7 separate regions of the Homo sapiens genome follow, and all the other regions are linked to region 1. Evidence: promoter capture Hi-C in 16 types of primary human blood cells and fetal thymus (Javierre and others, 2016). All regions are on one chromosome and are shown on one strand. The core of a region is centred on a gene start or on the middle of the fragment in contact, and the rest is flanking DNA. Distances in the headings are between cores, read along the strand shown. Region 1 holds the start of RNF122 (ring finger protein 122). Region 2 overlaps DPYSL2 (dihydropyrimidinase like 2). Region 3 overlaps PTK2B (protein tyrosine kinase 2 beta). Region 4 overlaps ADAM9 (ADAM metallopeptidase domain 9). Region 5 overlaps HTRA4 (HtrA serine peptidase 4). Region 6 overlaps PLEKHA2 (pleckstrin homology domain containing A2). Region 7 holds the start of PLEKHA2 (pleckstrin homology domain containing A2).

Region 1 (2,828 bases), core at 223-2,722:
AACTAACTTAGAAGCATCACCCAGGCCTGGGGAGAAATGGGGCGAGGGGTTGTCGCGTCTGGAGGTGTGGCCTTCACTTGGGCTCAGGAGCAGACACCCTAATCTGGCCTTGTGGCCAGAAACACGGCTCCCGCCAGGCCAGCCTCGCACCCCAGGGACAGCCGGGCGCGGAGCTCTCTGCGAGGGTTTATCAACTCAGGAAAACGGCTTTTTTTTAGATGGAGTTTCGCTCTTGTTGCCCAGGCTGGAGTGTAATGGCACGATCTAGGCTCACTGCAATCTCCGCCTCCTGGGTTCAAGCGATTCTCCTGCCTCAGCCTCCCAAGTAGCTGGGCTTACAGGCATGCGCCACCACTCCCGGCTAATTTTGTATTTTTAGTAGAGACGGAGTTTCTCCATGTTGGTTAGGCTGGTCTCGAACTCCCGACTTCAGGTGATCCGCCCGCCTCGGCCTCCCAAAGTGCTGGGATTACAGGCGTGAGCCACCGCGCCTGGCCGAAAGCGACTCTTTAATCCAGTCTTCCGCAAGCACCCAAGCCACGCCAGCAGCCCGTGGGAAACCAACAAAGCCAGAGGAAGCTACCCCCGCGCCCAGTCCCGCACGCTGCACGGTATACATATTTACAATAGCCTGCAAAGTTTCAGGCCGGGAACTTGAGCTCCCTCTAGGAGATCCCAGCCCGAGTGCGGATTTAATTCTCCTCCAACAACCACAACAAAGAACAGAGTTTGAGCGCACAAAGGCAGGGGAAGGGGGTAGAAGAGCCGGGCCGCCACACAAAGGCCGGGAACCCCTCGGCTCCCACGCCCCCGGCCCGCCGCCAGTCCGGAGGCCCCTTCCAGGCTCTGGAGTGAAACCTGGATAGTTTCAAATTCCGCGCTGTGCAGAGCAGAGTGGGGCGCCAAGACGCCTTCTCGACTGTCCCATTTCAGGAGAAACTTGGTTCCCGAGGGAGGACCAGCGCGCTGCTGTCCGACCTCGCACCCCGCGCCGCGGCTCCCACCAGCCCCACGTAGGCTCGGCCCTCGCCCCGGGGACTCACCGTTACACCACTGGAATGGGTGCATCAATGAAGTCGCGGTTGGCTTCCTCGGGCGAACGGACGCAGGCGGGGTGCCAGGAGGGCGGGGTGGGAGCACTAGCGGCGTGAGGGGCCGCAGGCGGGGTCGGGGCAGCGCGCTGCAGCCGCCCTGCTGGAGAAGCCGAACTCCCTCCGGAGTGGGGGGCTTTGACGAGGCTGGTGTTCAGCCCAACAAAGAGGGACGAGGAGGAAACAAACAAAGTCCCGCGGAGCACAGCCGCACGGAGCGCACGCGCCAAGGGCCCCGGGCTGGGGGAATGTGGGGCGCCGCGGGGCGGGGGTGCCCGGGCTGCAGAAGCCCTCGGCCGGGGGAGGAGGGAAAAACCTTTGCCGGAGGCTCGGATCGGGTTCAGCGGCGCAGAGGTGAGCTGGCTGGGGTTCCGAAACTGACACCCGGCGGTGCACACCCCCTCCCTTTTACTTCCCCCACCAGTCCCCAGGAAAACTCCGCCCCTTGTTCGTCACCCTCCCTCCGACCAATCGGAGCCTTTCTCCTGCCCCCGGCTATTATTTGCAGGCCCAGCCTCCCTTCCCTGGAAGCCGGGAGGATCTTCGCACGGTGGGCGCCTCCCACTTAGTCTTCCCAGGCCTGGGGAAACTTCGGTCTGCAGAGAATGGAGCGGCGACGAGCGATGCCCCGGAGTGGGGGCCTGCCTTTTGCCCAGGGACACCAAGGCAAAGGAACAATTACTGCCACATTGTTTTCCGCCTACAGATCTGTTATTTATTTACTTATGTATTTGGAGGCAGAGTCTGCCTCTATCGCCAAGGCTGGAGTGCAGCGGCGCGATCTCAGCTCACTGCAACCTCTGCCTCTCGGGTTCAGGTGATTCTCCTGCCTCAGCCTCCTGAGTAGCTGGGATTACAGGCGCTTACCACCATGCCCAGATAATTTTTGTATTTTTAATAGCGACGGGGTTTCGCCATGTTGGACAGGCTGTTCTCGAACTCCTGGCCTCAAGTGATCCTCCTGCTTCAGCCTTCCAAAGTGCTGGGATTATAGGCGTGAGCCACCGCTCCCGGCCCTCTTTTTCTTTTTTGAGTTAGAGTCTTGCTCTGTCACTCAGCTGGAGTGCAGCGGTGCAATAATAGCTTACTGCAGCCTCCAACTTCTGGGCCCAAGCAGTCCTGCCACCTTAGCCTCCCAAGAAACTGGGACCACAGGTGCCTGCCACCAAGCCCAGCTACTTTTTAATTGTTTTGTATAGATGAGTGGCCTCACTATGTTGCTCAGGCTGGTCTCGAACTCCTGGACTCAAGTGATCCTCCCGCCTGAGCCTCCCAGATTGCTGGGATTACAGGCATGAGCCATGGCACCCAGGACATTTCATTTCTTAATTGGATAATTGCAAAAGCTTCCTAACTGGCCATTCTGATTCTAGTCTATAGCTCAGACTTCAGAGCCTACAAGAATCACTCCTATGTTTGAGATGTAACATGCAGATTCCCAGGCCTTGAACCCAGAGATTCTGATTCAATAAAGGGTGGACCCAGAAATTTTCATTTTAATGTGCCTTGTCTTCCCCACCCCTCAAATTCTCATGCGGCTATTGAAAGAAACAGTGCTCTGATTTCACTCTCAAGTCCATCCCTTCTGGTCACAATTATCTCTGTAAAATGTAAATCTGAACATTTCTTTGCTTGATAACGTTTGTTGGTCTCCAGTGTTTACTGAATAAAGTTCTGTAAACTAGAGTGTGGCATTCAAAATGTTTCAGTCTAGACTCACTCCTATAATCTCAAAAC
Region 2 (2,828 bases), core at 233-2,732, 7.0 Mb before region 1:
CGAATATTAGATTCACAAATAATAATTCATAATTTTACAGGAAATTTTCATTGAGTGTTTTTCTACAGAAAGTATAAGAAACATTTATTTATTTATTTAGACAAGGTCTCACTCTGTCACCCAAGCTGGAGTGCAGTGGCACGATCATGGCTTATTACAGCCTCAGCCTCCCAGCCTCAACTGATCTTTCTGCCTCAGCCCCAACCTTCCCCTGCCCCCAGTAGCTGGGACCACAGGTGCCCACCACCACACTCAGCTAATTTATTTTGTTTGTTTTTGTTTTTTTGAGATGGAGTTTCGCTCTTGTTGCCCAGGCTGAAGTGCAGTGGCGCTATCTTGGCTCACTGCAACCTCCGCCTCCCGGATTCAAGTGATTCTCCTGCCTCAGCCTCCCGAATGGCTGGGATTACCGGCCCCAGCCACCATGCCCGTCTGATTTTTGCATTTTTAGTGCAGACGGGGTTTCACCATGTTGGCCAGCCTAGTCTCTAATATTTGTATTTTTTGTAGAGACGGGGTTTCTCCATGTTGCTGAGGCTGGTCTCCAACTCTTGGGCTCAACTGATCTGCCTGCCTTGGCATCCCAAAGTGCGGGATTACAGGTGTGAGCCACTGTGCCCAGCCTCTCATTTATTTTTACAAGGATCTCTGAAGTAAAAGTGTGAGGCCTGTTTACCTGTGGTTTTTTGTTTTTTTTTTCACCTTCATCAGTGCAAAGCAGGTGGAAGATTCTCCTCGGCCCTTTTTTACTTTTCCTCATTGCGCTGAATGGTAAATATGGTAAGAAATGCAGGTTGCAGACAGTTCTCTTCCTCGGTCAATTTAAACCATTTGTTTGGTATCTTTTATGTGCCAAATACTCTCTTAGGCTCTAGTCAGAACAGACAAATCAGTTTATACCTTACATTTTTGGATATTTACGAGTGGAAACGTCAGTTATTATGGACTAAGAACCTCATAGCAATGGCTATACAATTGAAGCCAATGAGACAGACACAAGCTCTTGGAAGCTTTTATTACAAAACAAACGATTCTATGGTAAACTGGTAAATAACAAGATATATTTAAACCCATTACGCTCAAACAACAGGGACGGGGGTAGGGAATACAACAAGAATACAAACAATATAATTATAGGTTACTTTGTTTTAAATTAATTTGAGTCTCTTTATTTACTCCCTTGCCAAGTAGTTTTTTTGTGAGCTAATAGGACACTCCTCTCCACTGCCCTGTCCTCCGCAAAGCTGGGACTGACTGTTGGTTTTTCACAAGTAGAGAGAGGCCAAGTAGAAAGGCGTATTTTAAGCTTTCTCAGACTCGTGACTTTAACCATTACCGGTTGACAGCAATACTTGCCGACATCATCTCACCTTGCTTGCGGCATATCAGATTGCTGGAGGGGGAAGTGCTTCACTTTCTCTTTCAGATGCACAGCTAAATTGAACTTGGATGAATTAACCATCGGTGAAACTTTGTGCGTGCCCTACGGCTACTTTCTGGGACTTCAGATTTTTAGAGATATAGGAGTGAAAAGGAGAATTTTACACCTTCTCTGAGTCTGGAAGGACAGACATTCCCCTAAAGTGGCTAAGGTGGTGAAGGGCAGAAAGATTGGAAGTCAGGCCCACAGCAGCTCGAATTATTCCGTATTTATCTAGCTAAGCTTTGCTGAGCAGGTGTGAGCCAATTACATACTCTTTCTTCCCCCACCCCCCAGCCCATGATTACGTAGGGATTCTATGTATCCTTCGACCTCAAGCAGAGAAGCCCGAGCGCTACGAGGGCTGGTCCAGATGTTTTAGTTATTGTACCTGCCAGGGCAACCTCCCACGGGGGTTGGCCTCGGTAGATTCCTGAGGATCAACTGGATCAGCGTTTTTCTTTCCCACGGACCCTGAAGTTAGAGCATCCCAGCATGGCTTGGACAGGCAAAGCTAAGGGGTCCCAGGCCTGCTCAATTGCTAGGACCACGAAGGGGCCTTGAGTGCCGTTTGAAGTGACAAGGCTCTGCCTGGGCAGTCAGGACACTCTTGATTTTAACTCCGATTCAGTAGGTTTTCCCCAAGACTCAGTTTCCCTTTCCTGTGGGATATAAACTCTTCCTTTCTTGCTCCTCCACAGCTCATCTCCTCCTCTCCGCCCCACGGTGCGGTGTGGGTCCCATCCACTGGCACTGTAAACCCTCAGGACCCCGGGGCGCTGGGATCGCAGCAGCTGCCCCCGACAGCGCTGCAGGCACCAGCGAAATGCGCTGCGCCCCCACGCACCCCTCAGGGAGCCGAGGTGGGCGTGACTGTAAAGCGGGCGCACAGAGCGCAGATCGCGCCACATCGGCCTCGGCGGGCTGCGGCTGCTCCCCATTCCTCCGCCCTACTAAGTTCCTCGCGGCCGGAAGGCACAAAAGGATGTTTCAGGGCGGGGTTTCCCATACCCCGCAGCCTTCCCCGGATGCCTCCTTCCCGGCTCGGAGTTGGAAGGGTTTCCTCAGGGCTCTCATTTCCTGCAGCCCGGCGCCTCCACGCGGGCCAGATCCCGTCTCTGCAGCCTCCCCCCGGCCCGCGCCCATTCCCCGCCCCCAGGAGCCGGGCCCGGACGCTCCCGGGAAGCAGCCGCCCTCTCCGGGGCCGGGCGTGGCCGGGCCCTCCCCGCCGGGTTCCCGCCCGCCGCCGTTCCAGTCCTCAGCCGCGCCAGGGCGGGGGCCAGGCGAGTTCAGCGCCAGCAACGGCGGGGGAGGAGGGCCCGGGAGCCCTCCCGGGCTGCGCGGCGCCGGCCGGCGGTGCAGTCGCGCGCTCGCCGCCAGCGAAGCCATTGGCTCGGCGCAGTCACCC
Region 3 (2,828 bases), core at 239-2,738, 6.2 Mb before region 1:
CAGAGTTTCAGTGTTAGCACCCCCACACTGTGGCTCTTCTAGCCCAATGGAGAAGGGCTAAGGGTTTCTAAAGTCGTTGACCTAGGGATTTACTGTTGGGATGAATTTCTCACCTAGGGGAGGTGTTCTGTTTTTGCTGAGAGATGACTGTGGGGAGCAGGGTTCTCTGCTCCTCTGACACTACTCATCCTCCTTCCCAACACCTGTGGGCCTTTAGCAAAGCAACACCCCACCCCCACCTTCACCCTGACCCCAGCAGTGTTTTCTTTCCCCCCACCAAGACTTCCTTGGGGCCCTCTGGCCTTGCCAAACCCCCTTTGTAGCAGCCTCCCCTTCCAGCAGTGACAGGAGGGACCCAGCCTCGGGAGCCTGTCTCTGAGAGACAGATGCAGGCAAAGAGCCGTTACCATGCAAAATCTAGAACTGTTCCCACGTGAAATCTAGAACTTCTCCCACACGAAATCTAGAACTGCTCCCACACGAAATCTAGAACTGCTCCCATGCGAAATCTAGAACCACTCCCATGCGAAATCTTGAACCGCTGGGTGGAAATGAGGTTCAGTAGGTGCGGCAGTGTCACCTCTCTGGAGCATCTTCCCAAGTCTTTATGACAAACAGGGATACCCTCATGGCCAGAGTCAGCTGGGAATTTTTGTGGAAGCAGCTCCTTGGATAGCATCACTCCTGTTCTCGTCATGGTGGAAAATGACTAAAAACTCAGGATATCCCACTGGCCCTGGGCAAATTCCCTCATTGGAGTAGGGACTAGGACAAGGGCCAGCCCATCCTGTCAGGCCAGAGCACTTCTGTGGTCTTCAGCCCAGTTCTGAGGGCCCCTCTTGAACCAGCTTTTGGGAAGCTTTGAGGGAGAGAGGGGAGCCAGAGAGGACGTCTCGTGAGAAGTGTTTGGAGGAACTGAGGCAGGTCCAGGGAAGGCCTGGGAGAGCAGAGGAGCTGTTTTCCACTAGTGAAAGGTCAGGAGGTGGAAGTGAGATGGGTTTTGTTCTGTGCATCTCCATGAGCAGGCCCAGGAAGTTACAGAAAAGTAGATTTGGGATGAATATAAAGGAAGGTTTTTTAATAATTAGAGCTCCGAGCAATGGGACAGGTTGCAGAAATGTTGAGAGAGTGAGTTTCTCATCACTAGAAGAATTCAAGCAGGAAGTGGGCAAGAGGGAGTGCCCGCATGGTCTGGGATGCAGGGAATGGACTCTGACTGCTCTTGCTGCTCTGAGCCTCTTGATTCTGATTTGGGTCTACCCCTGCCCTTCTTGCAAGTCCTCCTTTTTCTCATCATGGACCTCCTCCCCGGAGCCAGGCAGAGGCTCAGGGGCTCTCCCATGTCCTGTCTGAGTAGGCTGCATGATGACTATTGATTGGCTGAAGCCCCAGAAATACCTGCCATGTGCTGGGCTGTGACAGTCACTTGGCGTTCCTGGGACATGTTCATGTGAATTCTCACCGGTGGCTTCACCCACCCCCAGTCCTGTGGGCCACGATTACTCTCCCACGTGCTGGAGATGAGGAAGTGAGGAAATACCCAGGGCGCTGCAGGGCTAAGATTAGACTAGGGCCCGGCCGCCTGTCTTGACACATGCGCACAAGCAGCTCCCCCAAGTTAAGAGCCTGTGTATCAGCTGAGTCCCAGGGCCTGGGGCTCTCCACACACTCTACATACAAACACCTGGCAAGGAGTCCTCACAACAGCGCTGAAACAGCTGCATCAGCGTCCCGTTTTACAGAGAAAGAAGCCAGGGTTCAGGATAGTTGGAAATAAGTCTGTGCATGACTAGCAAGGGATAGAGCTGTGGCTTGTGCTCAGCTTTGCCCTCTGTGCCACTGACTGCCACCAGAGGCTGTAAGCTGCCTTCCATGCGATGCACCTCAGGCAGCTCAGAGAATGCACCTCAGGGGCTTCAGCCAGGGCAGTTCGTTTCCATACTCCTGGGTGAATGATGGCCTCCTCCAAGAATTCCAGGTCCTATGCTAAATACAACTGGGAAAGAAGTGCGTAACGCATTATTTCCAGCTTACCAGAAACCTGGAGCCCCAAAGGGTAAACATAGCACATTTACAATAAGCCAGATGTGCTGAAAAGGGAACAGCAGCCGTGAAGAAAAGCTTCCTGACGGAGGTGAAACTTGAGGTGGGCTTTACCAAGAGGAGTCTTAGATAGGCAGAGATATGGAGGTGTGAGGCGGGGAGACATTCGCTCAGTACTGCAGGGACTGAACAGAATTTTGCCATGAATTCTTGAGCTACAGTTAAGCAAGCATTATTGACTTTCCCACTTTGTCTACCTGCATATGAGTGATCCCAGAACCTTCCAGCCCCACCTTCTCATCCTGACTTGATGAGTGGCCTCACTGACGTCCAATTGACGGGAGAAGATTGTAGGCAATATTCGCTTTTCTTCTAACTGGCTGTCAATTCCTGTGGATTCCACCTTGGGACATCTTCCTTCATCTACTCCTTTTTCCTCATTATCGCCCCCATCTTGAGTAAGACACTACTTCTTGCCAAAATCAATGCATTTGTCACTCGATTGCTGCCCCAGGGTTTCTTCCTGCAAATCTGTCCTATGCATACCTGTGGGTAGTCACCTCTGTAAACCTTGACACTTCTGATGACATCTTCAGCAAGCCTCAGGCTTTCCTGCAGTTTTGCTCATATACATTCTAAGTTTTTCTGATAGCTTTCAACCCACGTCTTCTTGTTTGCAAACCTATCCAGCCTGGAAGGTCCAACTCATATCCTGCCTTTCCCATGAGATGAAATTAACTTTCTTCACCCATGCTGCTCCCCAGACATAATTTCATGTCCCCTTC
Region 4 (2,828 bases), core at 104-2,603, 5.4 Mb after region 1:
AGGGTCTCCCTCTGTTGCTCAGGCTGGAGTGCAGTTGCATAATCATGGCTCACTGCAGCCTTGATCTCCCAGGCTCAGGTGATCCTTCCACTTTAGCCTCCTGAGTAGCTGGGACCACAGGCATGTGCCACCATGCCCCACTAATTTTTAAATTTTTTTGAAGAGACAGGGTCTTGCTCTGTTGCTCAGGCTGGTCTTGAGCTCTTGGGCTCAAGTGATCCTCCTGCCTTGGCCTCCCAAAGTGCTAGGATTACAGGGTTGAGCTACCATGCCTGGCCAGCATATGTAATCTTGTCTGTAATGATTTACTTAAAGAGAATTTTTTTTTAAAAAGTGAAAGCATGTTTATTAAGAAAGTAAAGGAATAAAAGAATGGCTACTCCACGAGCAGAACAGTGGCACGGGCTGCTCAGCTGAGTATACTGATAGTTGCTTCTTGGTTATATGCCAAACAAGGGGTGGATTATTCATGAGTTTTCTGGGAAAGGGGCAAGGATTTTTAGACCATATAAGGTAACTTCTGGGCATTGCCATGGCATTTGTAAACTGTCATGGTGCTGGTGGGAGTGTCTTTTAGCATGCTAATGTATTATAATTAGCATATAATGAGCAGTGAGGACGACCAGAGGTCACTTTCCTCGCAGTCTTGGTTTTGGTGGGTTTTAGCTGGCTTCTTTACCGCAAACTGTTTTATCAGCAAAGTCTCTGTGACTTGTATCTTGTACTGACCTCCTATCTCATTCTGTGACTAAGAATGCCTAACCTTCTGGGAATGCAGCCCAGTAGGTCTCAGCCTTATTTTATCCAGCCTCTATTCAAGTTGGAGTCAGTCTGGTCTGAGTGCTGCTGACATATTTTCCCTCATCCTTTTACATGGGAACCTTAATCCTAAAGATTGTAGAGGGACAAAGATCTATCTTCTGTGACTTCTTCAGGCTGAATAGGGGCAATCATGTTCCTGCCTAACTATAGGGTATCTTGTATCCGGGGTAGAGAGGAGCTCAGTCACACAACGTCATTATGCTGAGGGCCATTCACAACTCTGAGTTCTGTTGAGTTCACAACACAAAAGGTGATATCTAGAAGATTAGTAAGATTAATAATTAATAAGTGTTCAATTTAAGAAAACATTCAGTAAGCTTATCCTGCATTCCTACACAAAGATTACAATAGCAATATATTTCATGACAGTATAGCAAATAAGTAAAATTATTCCAAGTAAACTAAATAGAAAGCTGTTCCATGAACTGGGCAATTGTTGGAACCCAGCTGATATAGGGTCACTAACTGATTCCAATATATGCCCAGAATTAGAATACTGATCCAGATGTTAACATTAGCCATCCCTCTTGTTTATTCTGAGCTGCAGTTAGAGATCACTGATTGGTTCACTGAAATAAGCAGAGTCAGTCCAAATTGCAGGGAAAAACTCAGAAACAACTGATGAGACTAGAATTTAATGTCAGGTGTACTATAGTTCTTGAAACGTAATTTTTCCCTTTCCTGTCCTCCATTTTCATTAAAAACAAATCATGATAGGACTGATAGGATATGATGGGTAGCAAAATAAGCTTTAGTCTTATTATGCTTGGCCTGATTGTTTGAAATAATTGCAGTAAGAATAATTATTTGCCACATAGGCACTTTTTAATTGGCTTTGATGGAACTTTGTTCCATAAGGAATCTCACCTGAGATGTTTTTTAAAGCAGAGCTCAGCCATGGGTTTGCACAGTTAAATACAGGTATGAGTTGGGTAAATTCCTCTCCTCTTGAGGTCCCAAGATAACTTGACACACCTGGGACTGTAGATAGTGACAGTCTTTATTTACAACAGATCAGGAACCTCGTACAGGGACTGTGTAGACAAGGTATGTGGCCAGTTTTCTCAAGGGGCTTTTATCGGTTCTATAAATCAAGTTTGATTCCTTAAAGGAAAGCACAACATTCCAGTCAAAACTTGGTAAAATAACCAGTTTCTCCAGTTGTGTCCTGTGCAAAAGAAAACAGATTCTTACAGAAATATAAGGGATTGATGGGTAAAGAGTTTAAAAGCTGTTTATACATGCAGTACATTGGATATGATATAATTTATGGTTTCTTGTTTGCAGCTGTTTGTATCTTTTTAATCCCAAACCAGACAAAATTATAAACATTTTATATACAATGTTATCTTGGAAAAAGTTAGATGTAAATAATTCATCTTAATCTATATTTGAGAAATCTGAGGGGTATTAGGAAACTCATGAGTGAATGAACATATAGATTGGATCAAAGGAGGAGAGTATGAGAGTAGGGAGACCAGGTAAAAAGGTATCATAGTCATCTAGAGGTGAGGTTAGTAAGGGTTAAGCCATTGGTAATAATGCTGGAAGAAAAAGAGGTTGTGTTGGACTTATCGAGAGACTATGTATTGGACTCCCACATGGTGTGTCTTCCTAAGAGATTTGTGTTGGCAATTTTGATTATACTCAATTTCAATTCAAGTGATGACTTTAGAACCCAAGCCCTGCTTAAGACATCATGATTCCATGCGGATAGACTGAACAGAATTGGAAATGGGAGTTAGTCTGCATGACTTTCAGAGCTCTTAACTGTTAAGAAATTTTGCTTAAAATTTGTGTTTTTGTGATGGATTAATGGCTATAATTTGAAAGCGTGGCTACATTGTTGAGTATGTATTTGTCAGAGTTAACCCATCAGATATTAAAAGTACCTTTTCCCTCTTACAGTCCTTGTCCATTTAATAAGTGTCTTAGTCTGTGTTGCTATAAAGGAGTACCTGAGACTGGGTAATTTATAAAGAAAAGAGGTTTATTTGATTCACTGC
Region 5 (2,828 bases), core at 233-2,732, 5.4 Mb after region 1:
CTAAGGTCAATTTTGCTAATTCTCAGTGCAGTGTTACTGACAATCCCACAGCTTTTTACCTTTTCCATGTTTATTTTTACTTTTAAATAATAAAAAGGCAAATGCTCCTTGTCCTTCTACCTTTGTCAAAATACAAACTGTGGCTCACTTTTAAAGTCAATGTAACTTACTAAAGGAAAAAAATGAGCTTAAGTTTTTTTTTTTTTTTTTTTTTTTTTTTTTTTTTTGAGACGGAGTCTCGCTAGGTCGCCCAGGCCGGAGTGCAGTGGCGCGATCTCGGCTCACTGCAAGCTCCGCCTCCCGGGTTCACGCCATTCTCCTGCCTCAGCCTCCCGAGTAGCTGGGACTACAGGCACCCGCCACCAGGCCCGGCTAATTTTTTATATTTTTAGTAGAGATGGGGTTTCACCATGTTAGCCAGGATGGTCTCGATCTCCTGACCTCGTGATCCGCCCGCCTCGGCCTCCCAAAGTGCTGGGATTACAGGCGTGAGCCACTCTGCCCAGCCATGAGCTCAAGATTTTAAAAAGTCCTCAGCATCCTTGATCCTTTGGCCATGAAAAGAAGGTAACTTCTGCGCATGTGCAGTTACCCTTTGCTGTCCCATCACACTATTTGCCCTATAAAGGAACATCCGTTGCTCTCTTTTGAAGTACAAAGTTCCTCTCGGCCCTGTTTTCTGACCCTAAGTAACTAGCTTCACTCCTTCTTCTGCTTGTTCTGGTCTTGCACTCATCAGTTTGCAAAACTTCATGACTGAATGATGTCCCCTCCCTTGCCAGGATGGTGATGTGATTGGCGTCAATTCATTGAGGGTGACTGATGGAATCTCCTTTGCAATTCCTTCAGATCGAGTTAGGCAGTTCTTGGCAGAATACCATGAGCACCAGATGAAAGGTAAAGCAAGTTGGGATTTTTTTTTTTTTGGTTTCGTCTTGTGCTTTTCAGGAACACTCAATCTTTTGTGGTGACAGCAATTTTTTTGTTTTTGTTTTTGAGACAGAATTTTGCTCGTCATCCAGGTTGGAGTGCAGTGGCGTGATCTTGGTTTACTGCAACCTCTGCCTCCTGGGTTCAAGCGATTCTCCTGCCTCAGCCTTCCGAGTAGCTGGGACTACAGGCACCCACTGCCACGCCCAGCTCATTTTCGTATTTTCAGTAGAGACGGGGTTTCACTATGTTGGCCAGGCTGGTCTTGAACTCCTGACCTCCAGTGATCCGCTTGCCTCGGCCTCCCAAAGTGCTGGGATTACAGGCATGAACCACCATGCCTGGCCCGGAGACAGCCATTTGAATCCTGTAGACTACTGGGTCACTCATTTGTACTCAGCTCCTATAATGGTGATTTGAGCAGCAATATTGGGGGACTAGGCACAAACCAAGCATGAGTTGTACCCAGAAGTATTTGGATTGAGCTAATGTGGAAATGAAACCCAGGGGCTGGAGGTGGGAGGTGGGTGGGAGGAGTGTAAGTGCTAATGACAAAGGTTCTCTGAAGCCTGTGTTTCATCCAGGTAACCTGAAAGGACAGCTGTGATGGCAAAGAGATCCTGGGACATGGGTGTCTTTTAAGCTGCGCTAACAGGAAAGAGGTTTTGTTGTAACACATCATAACTTTCCTTTCCAGGAAAGGCGTTTTCAAATAAGAAATATCTGGGTCTGCAAATGCTGTCCCTCACTGTGCCGTAAGCATGTGTTTGAATATGTCTGGGTTGTTTTTCAGAGGCAAAAACCATAGCTGCACAGTCTTAACAGAAAAGCTGAGCCACTTGGACCACAGCCAGGTACTCTTGTGACCATAGGCCCTATCTGTCTCAGGGTATGTATCTGCCTCTGCCTGCATCAGCACTAACTATACATAGTTTATTTCATTGTGGCTGTATTTTATAATGTCCAGTGGTTCTAGGCTTTGGGATAGAGGCTCAGCCCGAACTGAGAGGAGAATGACTGTGATTAGCTTGATGGAATCTTCCTCGGCCCTTGTGAACCTTGAGCAGAACAGAGTACCTACTAAGAATTTCAGGCTTTTACCAGGGCTCAGGAGACTAATTCATTGTTTCCTAATCTTCTCACTTCTCTTAGCCTTAGTGAAGAATTGAAAATGCATTATCCAGATTTCCCTGATGTGAGTTCTGGGGTTTATGTATGTAAAGTGGTTGAAGGAACAGCTGCTCAAAGGTAAGAGAAGTGAAGGCCTTTGTCATCTACCTTTGCTTTTTCTAAATGTGTGCCATGGTAAAATGCATGGGGGATCCAGACTTGATCTGTCCAATACAGTGGCCACTACTTACATGTAGTATGTACTGAGCACATGAAATGTGGCCAGTGTGACTGAGGAACTGAATTTTGAATTAAAGTAAGTTTAATTTAAATTAAAAAACCCAGGCCAGGTGCAGTGGCTCATGCCTGTAATCCCAGCACTTTGGAAGGCCAGGGTGGGTGGATCACCTGAGGTCAGGAGTTTGAGACCAGCATGGCCAACATACTGAAACCCCGTCTCTACTAAAAATACAAAAATTAGTGGGTGCGCCTGTAATTGCAGTTACTTGGGAGGCTGAGGCAGGAGAATCGCTTGAACATGGGAGGCAGAGGTTGCAGTGAGCTGAGATCACGCCACTGTACTCCAGTCTGGGCGACAGAGCAAGACTCCACCTCAAAAAAAAAAATATTATCATTATATAGTAGTATATTGGGGGGGTGTGTTATTTCAAGTGGATTTCAAAGACATAGGAAACAGAGTGTAAAATAACTATTTTAAAAATATCACGTTAAATGATAATATTTGGATATATTGTATTAAATAAGATATATTATTAAATTAAATTCAT
Region 6 (2,828 bases), core at 91-2,590, 5.4 Mb after region 1:
GATAATCAATTAATATTTGTTGAAAGGCACCATGTAGCCTGGTGCCGTTTTAAAAAAATATATATCTTTTTAGGCCGGGCGTGGTGGCTCACACCTGTAATCCAATCCCAGCACTTTGGGAGGCCGAGGCGGGCGGATCACCTGAGGCCAGGAGTTCCAGACCATCCTGGCCAACATAGCGAAACCCCTTCTTTACTAAAAATACAAAAAATTAGCCGGGCATGGTGGTGGGTGCCTGTAATCCCCGCTACTTGGGAGGCTGAGGCAGGAGAATCGCTTGAACCCGGGAGGCGGAGGTTGCAGTGAGCCAAGATCGTGCCACTGCACTCCAGCCTGGGCAACAAGAGTGAAACTCTGTCTCAAATAAATAAATAAATAAATTTTTACATTTTTTAAAATTTCTATCGTTTTGGGGGAACAGGTGGTGTTTGGTTGCATGGAAAAGTTCTTCAGTGGTGATTTCTGAGATTGTGGTGCACCCATCTGCAGCAGTGTCCACGGTGCCCAAATGCATAGTCTTTTATCCCTCACCCCCCTCCTGCCCTTCCCACCCTGAGAAGTAGATGTGAAAGGAGTGGGGATTTCCCACCTGCTTTTCTTTCACCTCCTCAATAGTTGTTTATGTGACTTTACTGGCTATGCATGAGTAGAATTTGAAAGGCTAAGACATTTTAGCCAGAAAGAGGCATTTTTTATTCAGAAACTCAGAAAGTAATCATAGTTGGTGAAATTTGCTTCAAGTGACTATTCTGTGACATACATTATGCCGGATGCCTTCTGTACCTTATAACTAACTGGTCTTTGTAGTGACCAGCCTGATCAAGGGGGTCCTCTTATTTGTCTCTGTTTTATACCTGGGGTCACAAAGGCTCCCCAAGTTTTTACAACATTCTCAAACATCTCTTCCCTACATGTAGTCAGGATTCACCCCAGGTCTATCTGGCCCCTATCCTGTTGTTCTTGCTCATGGATCTCTGGTCTCATGCACTCCTTTGCCCAGGTACCTGTGGCACTGGCCGAGGTAGTGCCATTTTCTTGCAGGCTTTCTCATTCATAAAGCCAACCCCACCTGTGATCAGTCCTTTCCAACTCTTGGCATATAACACACAATCTAACATCTGATGGTACAGTTTTGCTTCCTTATGTTCTTTTTTTGTTGTTGTTGAGATAGAGTCTTGCTCTGTCCCCAGATTGGAGTGCAATCTCAGTTCACTGCAGCCTCTGCCTCCCAGGCTCAGGTGATCCTCCCGCCTCAGCCTCCCGAGTAGCTGGGACTATAGATGTGTGCCACCACACCTGACTCAGTTTTGTATTTTTTTTTATAGAGAACAAGGTTCACCATGTTGTCCAGGCTGGCCTAGAACTCAAGTGATTTGCCTGCCTTGGCCTCCCAAAGTGCTGGGATTACAGGCGTAAGCCACTGCGCCTGGCCCTTATGTTCTTTCACTGGGTAGGAATTAGATCTTTTACTCCTTATGTATTCCCCGCAGTGGCTGGGGATATACGCGGCAGGCATTTAACACTGGGAAATAACTTGGGCTGCTTTGAGGTTTGTCACTGAGCATCATCTACTCCCCGCCCTCTTCCTTGCAGAAGTCAGGATTTCTTTTCCAAAACCCACACCCAGCAGTGTCCCCTAAAGGAGTGCCCTGAGGTCATCTCCTCTCCCCTTGCTTTCCTCCTCTTTAGCTCTTTGTCTCCTGGGCCCCGCACAGTGAGGCAAGGAGCAGGAGCTGAGTGAGGTTGATGGGGCTGCTGTGAGGGTGGAGGAGACGGTTTAGGGAGCGGAGAGTTGGCTCCCTTAGGAGAGGCCAATGGCAGTGGAGTAATTAAAAGCATAGGCTCACTGGGTTCAGTGGCTCATACCTGTAATCCCAGGACTTTGGGAAGCTGAGGCAGGCAGATTGCTTGAGCTCAGGAGTTCAAGACCAGCCTGAGCAACATGGAAACACCCTGTCTCTATGACAAATATAAAAATTAGCCAGGAGTGGTGGCATGTGCCTGTAGCCCCAGTGAGCCATGATTGTACCACTGTACCCCAGCCTGGGCAACAGAGCGAGACCCTGTCTCAAAAAAATAAATAAATAAAGCAGAGACTCTGGAGTCAGACCTAGGTTCCAAATCTCCAGCAACTTGGAGGAGTCATTTAAGCTCTGACCCTGAGTGTGGGTCTGGGTTTCCTCATCTGTAAAATGGGGGAAGTCTTAAGTGCCCCCCGGGGCTGTTGTGAAGATTAGATGAAATAATCTACAAAAAAGCACCCGAAACGGTGCTTCCCACAAAGCACTTCATACACCTTAGAGGGAAGGAGGGAGGCAGGAAGGAAGGAAACTGTAGGAGATGGTGGTGGTGGGGTTGGATATTAGGCAGGAGGTTTTGGAGGGAAAGGAGCTTGTTAGAACTGCTGGTGGGAGAGGGGCCTGGGGAGGGTCCATCTGGATGGCAAAGCCTCCTGAGACCCTCTAGGAAATGAAGCTAGAGGAAACCCCTGGAGTGTTTTTCAAGGCAGGAGCTGAAGGAAGAATGGCTTGGAACCACCCCCCACCCATCTTCCTTTTTTATGGTAGAGGGCACTGGGGTCTTAGGACATATCGAGTCCTCTCTGAGTATGTCAGCACGCCATAACATTCTTTCTCTTTCTCTGTCTAGTGATCTCTTAATGAGGGACAACCTGTTTGAAATAATAACAAGCTCCAGGACCTTCTACGTACAGGTAAAATGCTCCCTTCCAGAAGACTCCAGCATTCTGTTTCTGTGAATGGTGCCCTCACAGGCCGTGTCCTTTCCTTTGCTTTCTCTTTTCATTTGCTTGAAGTTTCTAGGCAGTA
Region 7 (2,828 bases), core at 120-2,619, 5.3 Mb after region 1:
GTGGAGACATAAGAGGCCGCCTTTCCTCTGTTAACACCGGGAATGTGCCCCAGCCTCTCCCTCCTTCCTGCAAATCCAGTCCTTGTCCTGGAGAACCTCAGCGTCTTCTTATGCCTGCCTCTTTCAAAGCCTCGTAGGATTTACACCTGATTAACAACGTTTGCATTAGGATCGCCAGACACCGGCGCACGGCCCCGCAGGCCCGCGCGAATCTTCTACATTTTCATGTTTCGGATGTTGTCCACCTGACTTGATGCATATTCAAATGTCTCTCTCCCGACGTGGGAGGCCGGAGTCAGAACCTGACAGACCTGCCGTTTACTAACTGGGTACCCAGGGCAAATTACTTCACAAGTCTGAGTCTCGGTTTCCTCACCGTGAACCGGACTGGTACCCATAGGTTGCGGCGTGGATCAAATGAGATAGCGCAGGGGCGGGACCCGCGCACAGCAGCTCTCTTAGTTCCTCTTGGCGAGGTTTACGTAGTAACACATGCTTGTCTGTTTCCCATTTTTTCCCAGAGCACCCTCATGCTCTGGGGGCAGGAAGGGAGTCTTCGCATCACACCGAAAAAGTCCCAACGGGCACGGTGTAGGCGCCTGTGGTCCCAGCTACTCGGGAGGCTGGGGCAGAAGGATCGCTGGACCCAGGAGGTCGAGGCTGCAGTGAGCTATGACTGCGCCACCGCACTCCAGCCTGGGCGACAGAGCCAGACCCTGTCTTGATTAAAAAATAAAATAAAATAAAGAAATTAAAGTCCTTATAACCCTGGTTAGAGCGTTCCCGCCCACTGGTCTCTTAGGGCACATTTAGGACAACCTGAAGAAGCCACTCTTCTTGGGACCCTAACCCTTACCCCAACTCCTCGGTCCCCAAAGGCTAAGGGCTCGGGATCCGAAGGAGGCCCAGCTGAGGTCGCTGGGTGGGGCTCTGGGAGGAGGAAATGGGGTTCTTGAGGGAGCTCGCGCTCCAGCTCGCCTCCTCCTGCGAGGACGCCCCCTGCCCGGACACCTGCTGCCCGAGCGAGCGTCGGGGCCGGGCCTCCCCGCGGGGCAGTCTCGGCGCGCAGGTCCCACCTGCCAGGCGCGGAACGCGGGCGGCCTCGGGCGCAGCCTCCGGGCGCCCCGCCCCCGCCTCCCCCGCGCGGCCCCGGCGCCCGGCCGCACCCCCTCCCAGCCCGCGGCGCCCCGGCACCCCTCTCCCTCCCCGGCGGGCTCCGCGGAGCATTGTACTCACATCCGGGGCTGGGTTTTGCTTTAATGCGAAACGTAATTAACCCGGAAAAAAGAGCCGAGGGACGGGAGAGAAGGAGGGGGCACTGGGGGAGACCAGAGCGAGGGGAGCGAGAGGCGCGGAGAGTTTGGCAGGCAGACCCAGAAATCCCTGGAGCGCGGCGGACCCGGCGGCCGGAGGGGCGACCCCGCCCGATGTAACGCGCCCCGCCCGAGCCCCGGCCCCTGCACGGGGGGGTAAGTTGGGCGCCCTCGCGGGCTCGGGAGTGGAGAGGCGCAGAGGGGCGCGCGGGGGCTGGCGGGGCTGGGGGTGCAGGGGGCGCCCCGGCGGAGGCCTGGCGGCCTAGGGGCGCGAGGGGCGCGCGCGCAGGGCTGAATACGCCGGTCCTAGTGGCTGACAGGCGAGGGGAGGTGGCCGCAGACCCTGGAGGCCTCCTCCAACCCTCTGGGAGAGCCCCGAGGGCAGCCCCTCCTCCAAGTGCCCCGGGTGGCCAAGGTCGCCGCCGCCAGGGGTCGGGCTGCGGGGGGTGGGGCCGCGGAGAGGGTGGGGGCGGGAGTTCTGCTGAGCTGCATTTTCTCACGTTTGCAGCAGCGAAACTTCTCTGCGGGTTCTGGCGCTGGGGCACCGACCCCGCAACGACTGCCCGGGCTGCGGGAGGGGAGGAGAGCAGAGAACGTCCCCAGGCAAGTCCCTTGGGTACGGATTGGGCCATGGAGACTCCTCTTTCACTCCCCCGACTACCTTATTAAATGACAGGCCTAGAAGGCTCCCCTAGGGACTCCTGTCCTTTCCTCTGGGTGCAGCCTGGACTTCGGGCTTCTGGAACTCCAGACAGTGAAAAGGACTGCCCTAAAATGCAGGTTCGGTGCCAGGTTGGGTGAGCCCTCGAGGGGAGCTGTCGTTCTCTCTCTCACCAACTTCTTCCTCACCTTACACGCTTCCCTTTTCTCCTCCAGTCCTAAAGACGATTTCACCAAAATTTTTTTAAAAAGAAAGAGAAAAGAAGGGTGTGGGGGGGGGTGGTGGGAAGCTAGGCCGTTTAGAAGGGAAAAGTGTCCCTGCACGCCCAGAGAGGGGCGCAGGGCCCGCTGCGGCCGGAGCACCCTCACATCTCCTCCCCGGGGCCAGCCCTGCCCCCAGGCCCTAGCCTTAGGGTTTGGCTTCCTTCCTTCTTGGTGAACGCAGGTTCAGGATGTATCTTCCCCTTCTCATTCCTTCTTCCTGCCCGCCCCCTTTCTTTCTTTAGGGCTCCAAGTGGGGTTTTCAGAGGACAGTAAACGGCAGAGAAGAGGGAGGGGAGAGCACCCCACCAGAAAGCCAGCTGTGGCTCTGGGGGCTCTGAAGGCTGAGCTGTAGATGCACTTGGGGCTGAAGTCCCAAGATTGCACTAATGGTGTTCTTAATCTATCTGACCAAGTCCCATTTTCCCTTCTTTTGTCATTTTTTTTCTTTGGTTGCGAAGCCTTCCGAAACAGCAAAGCAAAAGATCTTGAAAGAATAGAAGTTTTTGCTTTCTATTTCAGTTGCATTCAGTTGACATGTATTATACATGCAAGGCAGTGATGAACAAAACACAACCCCTGTCTTTATTTTTT

What was found. The method cuts DNA at HindIII sites, captures the fragments that hold promoters and counts their contacts. A CHiCAGO score of 5 or more calls a contact.
Region 2: a contact is called between a fragment that was not itself captured here and the fragment with the promoter of RNF122 in region 1, in 1 of 17 cell types (M1 macrophages). The highest score is 5.2, in M1 macrophages.
Region 3: a fragment that was not itself captured here is called in contact with the fragment with the promoter of RNF122 in region 1 in 1 of 17 cell types (M0 macrophages); the score reaches 10.7 in M0 macrophages.
Region 4: a contact is called between a fragment that was not itself captured here and the fragment with the promoter of RNF122 in region 1, in 1 of 17 cell types (M0 macrophages). The highest score is 7.2, in M0 macrophages.
Region 5: a fragment that was not itself captured here is called in contact with the fragment with the promoter of RNF122 in region 1 in 1 of 17 cell types (M0 macrophages); the score reaches 7.6 in M0 macrophages.
Region 6: a contact is called between a fragment that was not itself captured here and the fragment with the promoter of RNF122 in region 1, in 1 of 17 cell types (M2 macrophages). The highest score is 5.1, in M2 macrophages.
Region 7: a contact is called between the fragment with the promoter of PLEKHA2 here and the fragment with the promoter of RNF122 in region 1, in 1 of 17 cell types (M0 macrophages). The highest score is 6.2, in M0 macrophages.

Annotation. Positions count from the first base shown.
Region 1 is chr8:33,565,656-33,568,483 of GRCh38, forward strand. RNF122 (ring finger protein 122) reads right to left here and starts at 1,473. Exons shown (of 6, transcript NM_024787.3): 1 at 1,044-1,473. The coding sequence starts at 1,068. RefSeq lists silencers at 848-897, 1,038-1,087, 1,118-1,187, 1,238-1,357. The HindIII fragment of the contact is 8,620 bases long and covers 1-2,435 here.
Region 2 is chr8:26,574,665-26,577,492 of GRCh38, forward strand. All of the region lies in intron 1 of DPYSL2 (dihydropyrimidinase like 2), which reads left to right. Among named protein-coding and RNA genes, the nearest start is that of DPYSL2, 62 kb to the left of the region's middle. RefSeq lists enhancers at 1,453-1,622, 1,721-2,418, 2,419-2,828 and silencers at 2,223-2,422, 2,463-2,828. The HindIII fragment of the contact is 357 bases long and covers 1,305-1,661 here.
Region 3 is chr8:27,362,360-27,365,187 of GRCh38, forward strand. The region is part of intron 1 of PTK2B (protein tyrosine kinase 2 beta); the gene reads left to right. Among named protein-coding and RNA genes, the nearest start is that of PTK2B, 38 kb to the left of the region's middle. RefSeq lists enhancers at 1-298, 1,925-2,104. The HindIII fragment of the contact is 1,262 bases long and covers 858-2,119 here.
Region 4 is chr8:39,004,237-39,007,064 of GRCh38, forward strand. All of the region lies in intron 1 of ADAM9 (ADAM metallopeptidase domain 9), which reads left to right. Among named protein-coding and RNA genes, the nearest start is that of ADAM9, 8.7 kb to the left of the region's middle. RefSeq lists an enhancer at 1-51. The HindIII fragment of the contact is 432 bases long and covers 1,138-1,569 here.
Region 5 is chr8:38,980,871-38,983,698 of GRCh38, forward strand. It overlaps HTRA4 (HtrA serine peptidase 4), which reads left to right. Exons shown (of 9, transcript NM_153692.4): 6 at 783-897; 7 at 1,628-1,685; 8 at 2,083-2,178. Among named protein-coding and RNA genes, the nearest start is that of HTRA4, 8.1 kb to the left of the region's middle. The HindIII fragment of the contact is 9,484 bases long and covers 1-2,828 here.
Region 6 is chr8:38,954,674-38,957,501 of GRCh38, forward strand. PLEKHA2 (pleckstrin homology domain containing A2) reads left to right here. Exons shown (of 12, transcript NM_021623.2): 10 at 2,650-2,713. Among named protein-coding and RNA genes, the nearest start is that of HTRA4, 18 kb to the right of the region's middle. The HindIII fragment of the contact is 3,095 bases long and covers 1-2,828 here.
Region 7 is chr8:38,899,977-38,902,804 of GRCh38, forward strand. It overlaps PLEKHA2 (pleckstrin homology domain containing A2), which reads left to right and starts at 1,370. Exons shown (of 12, transcript NM_021623.2): 1 at 1,370-1,469. It overlaps LOC124901937 (a long non-coding RNA gene), which reads right to left and starts at 1,469. Exons shown (of 2, transcript XR_007060893.1): 1 at 1,237-1,469; 2 at 1-720. RefSeq lists an enhancer at 32-281 and silencers at 882-1,291, 1,372-2,041. The HindIII fragment of the contact is 6,068 bases long and covers 1-2,828 here.